Linked DNA regions of Homo sapiens: region 2 is linked to region 1. Evidence: promoter capture Hi-C in 16 types of primary human blood cells and fetal thymus (Javierre and others, 2016). All regions are on one chromosome and are shown on one strand. Each heading gives the region's core, a stretch centred on a gene start or on the middle of the fragment in contact. The rest is flanking DNA. Distances are from core to core; before and after follow the strand shown. Region 1 holds the start of SYBU (syntabulin). Region 2 overlaps PKHD1L1 (PKHD1 like 1).

Evidence for each region. The method cuts DNA at HindIII sites, captures the fragments that hold promoters and counts their contacts. A CHiCAGO score of 5 or more calls a contact.
Region 2: a contact is called between a fragment that was not itself captured here and the fragment with the promoter of SYBU in region 1, in 2 of 17 cell types (total B cells and naive B cells). The highest score is 7.2, in total B cells.

The regions. Positions count from the first base shown.
Region 1 is chr8:109,643,443-109,646,452 of GRCh38, reverse strand. It overlaps SYBU (syntabulin), which reads left to right and starts at 1,631. Exons shown (of 7, transcript NM_001099754.2): 1 at 1,631-1,817. The coding sequence starts at 1,794. It overlaps SYBU-AS1 (SYBU antisense RNA 1), which reads right to left and starts at 2,324. Exons shown (of 2, transcript NR_161375.1): 1 at 2,231-2,324; 2 at 1-1,335. RefSeq lists enhancers at 947-1,266, 928-1,864 and a silencer at 1,377-1,866. The HindIII fragment of the contact is 4,274 bases long and covers 1-3,010 here.
Region 2 is chr8:109,531,574-109,534,281 of GRCh38, reverse strand. It overlaps PKHD1L1 (PKHD1 like 1), which reads right to left. Exons shown (of 78, transcript NM_177531.6): 78 at 1-2,708. Among named protein-coding and RNA genes, the nearest start is that of EBAG9UORF, 6.8 kb to the left of the region's middle. The HindIII fragment of the contact is 8,383 bases long and covers 1-2,708 here.

The DNA.
Region 1 (3,010 bases), core at 382-2,881:
TTTATGGAGGAAGCTCTCTTTTGGAGTTATAGGAAGAAGGGAAATTGATTCCACTAATCCTCTGGCTTCAGGCTCTCTCTAGACTCACAACATATATTCTTAGGCTTGAGAGTTGAGGACTCAGAAATGCTGTTTGGAGGATGGATGAAAGGGGACAATGACCCTCAGTTTTCGAGGAGCACAGTCCTCCTATGTAGGACACTGGTGCATAAGGATCAGAGTGTCGCACTGCTTGGAATATTCTCCAATTCTGAATAAAGGGTATATAAGTCATTATACATGGTGAATTCCACCACCAGATAAGATTTAAGGGTAGCAATTGTAATAAATCAAGGCCCTTGGCCCAGCTGATGTACCCTATTCTAAGTCCCCAGTTGGACAGATTTTCGAGCTTTCTTAAACAAATTTGTGTGCATCACAAATGCTTTTTCTGCCTGTCATGTAAAAGGCATCAACAAATATTGACTGGATCATCTGGACCTGACTTAGCTGCCCTTTGGAAAGTTCTGTTCAATCAGCTGGATAGAGCTGTTTGTTTTCCTCACCTAACCCTCACAGCTATCCTAGAGGTAGGTATCACTATTATTATCCCTCAATTTAACAAGGGTAAATTTGAAGTTCAGAAGGGTCAAGAACCGTAGGCGTAGGCCACGCATGCAATGGCATCCGCATGTAATTCGAGCACTTTGAGAGGCCTGGACGGGATGATCCCTTGATCCCAGGAGTTAGAGGTTGCAGTGAGCCCTGATCGCGCCACTGTACTACAGCCTGGGCCACAGAACGAGATGCCGTTTCAACAGCAACGGAAAAAAAAAAAAACAAAAAACGAAACAACAACAAAAACTTTAGGCATAAAGGCACTCAGGCTGAAGGGACCGATTGGAGTGCTGGCTTGAACTCGTTTTTCTGAGTTCAATTCCAGTGCTCTTCCCTTAGCAGTGTGCTGGAGCTACTTCCTGGAGCCGGGCAGCTGCAGGGCAGCGCTGGGGAAAAGACTGTTCTCTGGCTACATAGCAGCCTGGCTTCTCCAAGCCGGAGGGAGCTGCGCTGACCACTGAAGGCCTTTCTGATGCAACCCCTTCCAAGTAGAATCCATCGCAGCCTTTCAGATCCCGGAACCCAGAGGCTGTGTCGGTCCTGACGCACTGGCTTGGCTGGGCTCCGGTACGAGAGGGATCTCTGCAGCTCTCGGGCGAGGCAGTTGTGGGGAGCTGTAGGCTGACTTAAGACCTGGAGGCCAAGGAGGGGTGGCCAGGGGAAAACTTTCTCTATTTTGTCTCTCTGTGATGTCGCAGCTTTTCTCAGTCACTCCATCCAACGCCACCCACTTCAAACCTGAGATCAAGTGCAAAAAAAAAAGAGGGTGGGGTCACCCCTGGGCTGGAGATGCCGCTAGCCGCAGCCTGCCTACACCGGGCCGAGCTCCTTGGAGAGGGAGGGACACCGGCTCTGGCTGGGGGGGCGCGGAGTGCCGTGGGGAAATCGGGCGGGTGGGGCGCGCCCAGGCGCGGTCGAGTTGCCCCGAAGGCCGCAGGTGAGGGAGGGCGTGGGAGGCGCCCCAGGAGCTGCCTCTAGCGAGTGCGGCACCACGTGTCCGGCCGGGGCGGGGTCGGGCGTGCCCTCGGAGCCCAGAGCAATCGGCGGCAGTGGCGGCGGCGGCGCGTTGGAGCCTCACCAAGAGCCGCCGCCCGCAGCCCGCGCCGGCTCAGCGCAGTCTCCTCGCTCCGTGCTCGCAGGTGCCTCCTCCTGGACGGCGGCAGCGGCGGCGCGAGGAGCCGGCGGGCAGCGGCGCGATGGGGCCCCTCCGCGAGAGCAAGGTAAGGAGCGCGGGGCAGTGCGGGCACTGGAGGGCGGGGAAGGCGGGCACTGCGGGGCGAGAAGCGGCGGGATGAGAGCTGGAGGGGTGACATTTAGAGTCTGGGGAAAGGTGGAAGGAGGTGGTGGTGGGGTCTGGAGAAGGCAGGAGGCATTGCTTAGGAGTTGAGATCCAGGAGATGGGGAGGTGGTACTGGAGGAATAGATTTTGGAGAATGACATGATTGGAGGGTTAATCCCACCTCCTGAAACTGGGACTGTGGGGTGTAGCTTTCAGTTGATATCCTGTGTGTGTGATGTGAATGAAAGGAATTTGATGCATCCGCGACTGGGAAAAGAGGACTCCCGCGTGTCAGTGACCCTGCCTTAGCTCAGGGTCTGCGGTGTGCCCGGCGGAGTGGCTGGCGCATGGTACCTGCTGGGCGGCAGATGTGCAGGGCGAATCCGAGGCTGCGTGCGGCTGGCGGCCCCCGGGTAGAGTGGATGCCTGAGGGCCCTCCGAAGTTCCCCATTGCTGAGGTTTACCCTTCAATTTATGCCATGTGCCGGCCTCCCAGAGGTGTTTATTTTGGCCGTGACCCTTCCTGGTAAGCCGGTGGAAGGAACAGTAGGTCATGTTTCGAAAGGGTGTTTGTTACCTAAGCCAAAGAGTCCCTTTCAGTGGCAGAGGTTGGAGGAAGCAGTGGAATTTTTGCAAAACGCTCCTCCTAGGAATCCATTTTCATAAGGCAGGGTGGTGGTGACCCTGCAAAGCACTGGATTTGAATTTCGTTCTACTTCTGGCATGGTGTGCAGAATTGCCTAAGCATCTCTACCCCATTTAGCCTGTTTCCTCATCTGAAAATAGGGACATTCATTGGTGTGCTCTCTATGTACAGTCTGGTGTGTAAAGATCAAATGAGAAAATGGTTGGAAAAGCACTTTATAAGTTGGAAAACATTGTGAAAATATTACTGTTACGCATTTTTAAAACCACGAAATGGCAGGGTACTTCATGCTGCGTTTTTAAGGAGAAAGAAAAATCTCTTCTTATGGATGTCCTGTAAGGAAAACAAAAATTAAAGATGATGTAAAAGGTGGAGCCATCTTCCCGAGTATCGGATTTGTGTTTGCTTTTCTGTTGGCAACAAGCCTTGTGTACCAGGATATTAACGAATAATTAAGATCCTGTCCAGAAGAGGAGGGATTTTAAAGA
Region 2 (2,708 bases), core at 113-2,612, 110 kb after region 1:
ACTGTGTTAGCCAGGATAGTCTCGATCTCCTGACCTCGTGATCCGCCTGCCTTGGCCTCCCAGAGTGCTGGGATTACAGGCGTGAGCCACTGCGCCTAGCCTCAGATTAAAGTTGAAGCATTTCCATTCGGGAGGGTATAGTAGTAACTCAAAGATGCATGTGGTATTTTAACCTTGGCATTGTCCACCTTTCCCATTAGGAAGGATTAACTCTCTGTTCTCTTGATCCTTCCAAATTTTGCCATCTCAGACATCTGATGAAAGCAGGAGATTTAGGATAACCACCAAATAACAATGAAACCCTAAAGGAGCAAGGGCTGGTATAGGGCACCACAATGTCAGGAACCCAAACTCCTTTCAGCTGAGCTCTCTGGGTTCTGGAAGAGGTATAAAAATATTCTTCACACAAGGACATTGTAAAAGCCATAAAATTGTCCACCATCTTAGTCTTTTCTTACCTAAAGTTTTAATTCAATCCACTGGAATTTTTTTTTTGTCAAGATTTTTCTGTAGATTTTTAGTAAGGAGATTTTCTAACACAAGTTATGGAGCAATAAAAGGCACTGGCCTTTATCCTCCAGGTCTCAGGAGCCATCTTGCTCCATGTAGCTGGAAAAACAGAAAGGGATGAAGAAAAGGCAAAGGGATGCATAATAGCTATGTTTTAAGGTCAGTTTCTAGAATATGCCACGAGATAATGTCTGTTTTTGTAACCCACTGCACAGAAATTGATCAGTCTCACTGCAAGTGAAGCTGGGAAATTGTCTTTGTTCTAGGTGGCCCAGTGCCCAGCCAATAATTCTAATAATTAGCACTCACATGGTGCTTATTACATGCCAGGCACTGTTCCAGTGTAATAAGAAGCCTAATGGTTTACTGGGCCAGGGATTGACATGATATAGGCCACATTATGGAAATAAAAACAAGAGTGGCTATCATTTTACCGCCTGTTAGGCACTGTGTTACATGTCATATATATGATACCATCAGTCTTCAGATGTCACACTTTCCACATTTTACAGTTGAAGAAACTGAGAATAATGGAAACTAAGAACTTGCCTGAGGGCATAGAAGTGGTAAAGTAGAAACCAAGAATTTGAACAGGAATTTGGATTAAAAACTCTTCCCAATGAAGCACTTGCCCATGCTTGAGGAAAAGTGGGAAGCAATTAAATGTTGGAATTTGGGCTCTGGAGTTAAATTGTCTGTGTTTGAATCCCAGCTTTACCATTAGTAGCTCTGTGAACTTGGGAATTTAACCTAACCCTTCAACATTTCAAGTTTCCTCATTTGGAGAAGGGAATAAGGTTATCCTCATAGGATTGCTGTAAGGAAAGGGTCCATGTAGAACACACAGCATAGTGTCTGGCATGTAGTGAACATGTGATAAACCTTTACTTTATTATTGATTATTGTTATTATTAGTGCTAGGGATATTTTAAATAGCACTTTTGGGGATAAAATGGATAAAAGGTAAAAACAGATGGACCATCTAGAAGTCATTGCAATGATCACAAGGTGATGGAATTTAGGAATGAGTAGAGACAGTAGTACAAGATATAAACATTTCACTTACTATGAGAAATACAAGAAGCTATTCTTATTAACTTTTTATTCTCTGTTTCTTACTTTGACCAAAATTGGAACAACATATTTACTTCGCCAACATTTCAGGTCTTAGGTAGAAGAATATTCACACATCAAAGGATTTTTATGACTTGTTCAAGAGCTAGATAGCCACTTCTTACAATACAAATTATTTTTAAGAATTTAAACATCAATTTCTGAGACAGAATGTTCAGAGAAATATTATTTAAATGCAAAAAAAAAGCAAAAATAAAACTTGCTTAGCATATGAATAAGGGACATGTGAAGATGTATTGCCCATGGATTCCAATAATTCAAGCATTTTTAAAAGTAGTAATTAAATTGTAATTTATCTGGAATAAGGAATTATTATGATAATTCTAGAATGTTCTTAAAAAGCAGACAGCCAGAAGCCTAAAGCAGTTAAAACAGGAACTTTTTAACAAAGTCTGTGTGGCTAAGAAGCAATTTTTAGAAATTCCTTTTACTGCCATATAACTTGTATTAGAAAATTTCCTTATTAAAAACTGACAGAAAAAATCTTGACAAAAAACTCCAGTGGGCTGAATTAAACCTTTAGGTAAGAAAAGAATACAGATGGTGGACAATTTTATGGCTTTTACAATGTTCTGGTGTGAAGAATATTTTTGTATCTCTTCCAGAACCCAAATGTAGGAATTTGTTCCATAGATGCTGGAATTGCAGTTTTTGGAATTTAGTTTTCCAACAGAAAGGAAGTATCACGGAATGAACAGTAAACTAGATTTGCCTTAGGAAGACTGATTTTTAAGTCTCAGCGTGAAATGGCCCATGTTGGGTCTCTTTCCCCCTCCCTATCCCAGGAACAGAGGTTTTTCACCCCACCAGGGTTGGAACTGAGGGGAGTATAAAAGTGCTCTGTTACCTGGTGCTGTACAATGAAGTATCAATGCTCTCTGGACATGGCAAATGTTCCTCATGAAGGGGCTTTCATGTATACTTTGAAGACTACCTTGTCAGGGACCTCTTACCTGCAATTCCCTTAAAATTGTGACTATTTCCATTCCAGCTGTTCATTTGAATTTTTTCTGTAGCCCCTAGGCCTTCAGTGGTCCTCTCCCAGTTTTCTTCCACTGCTCTTC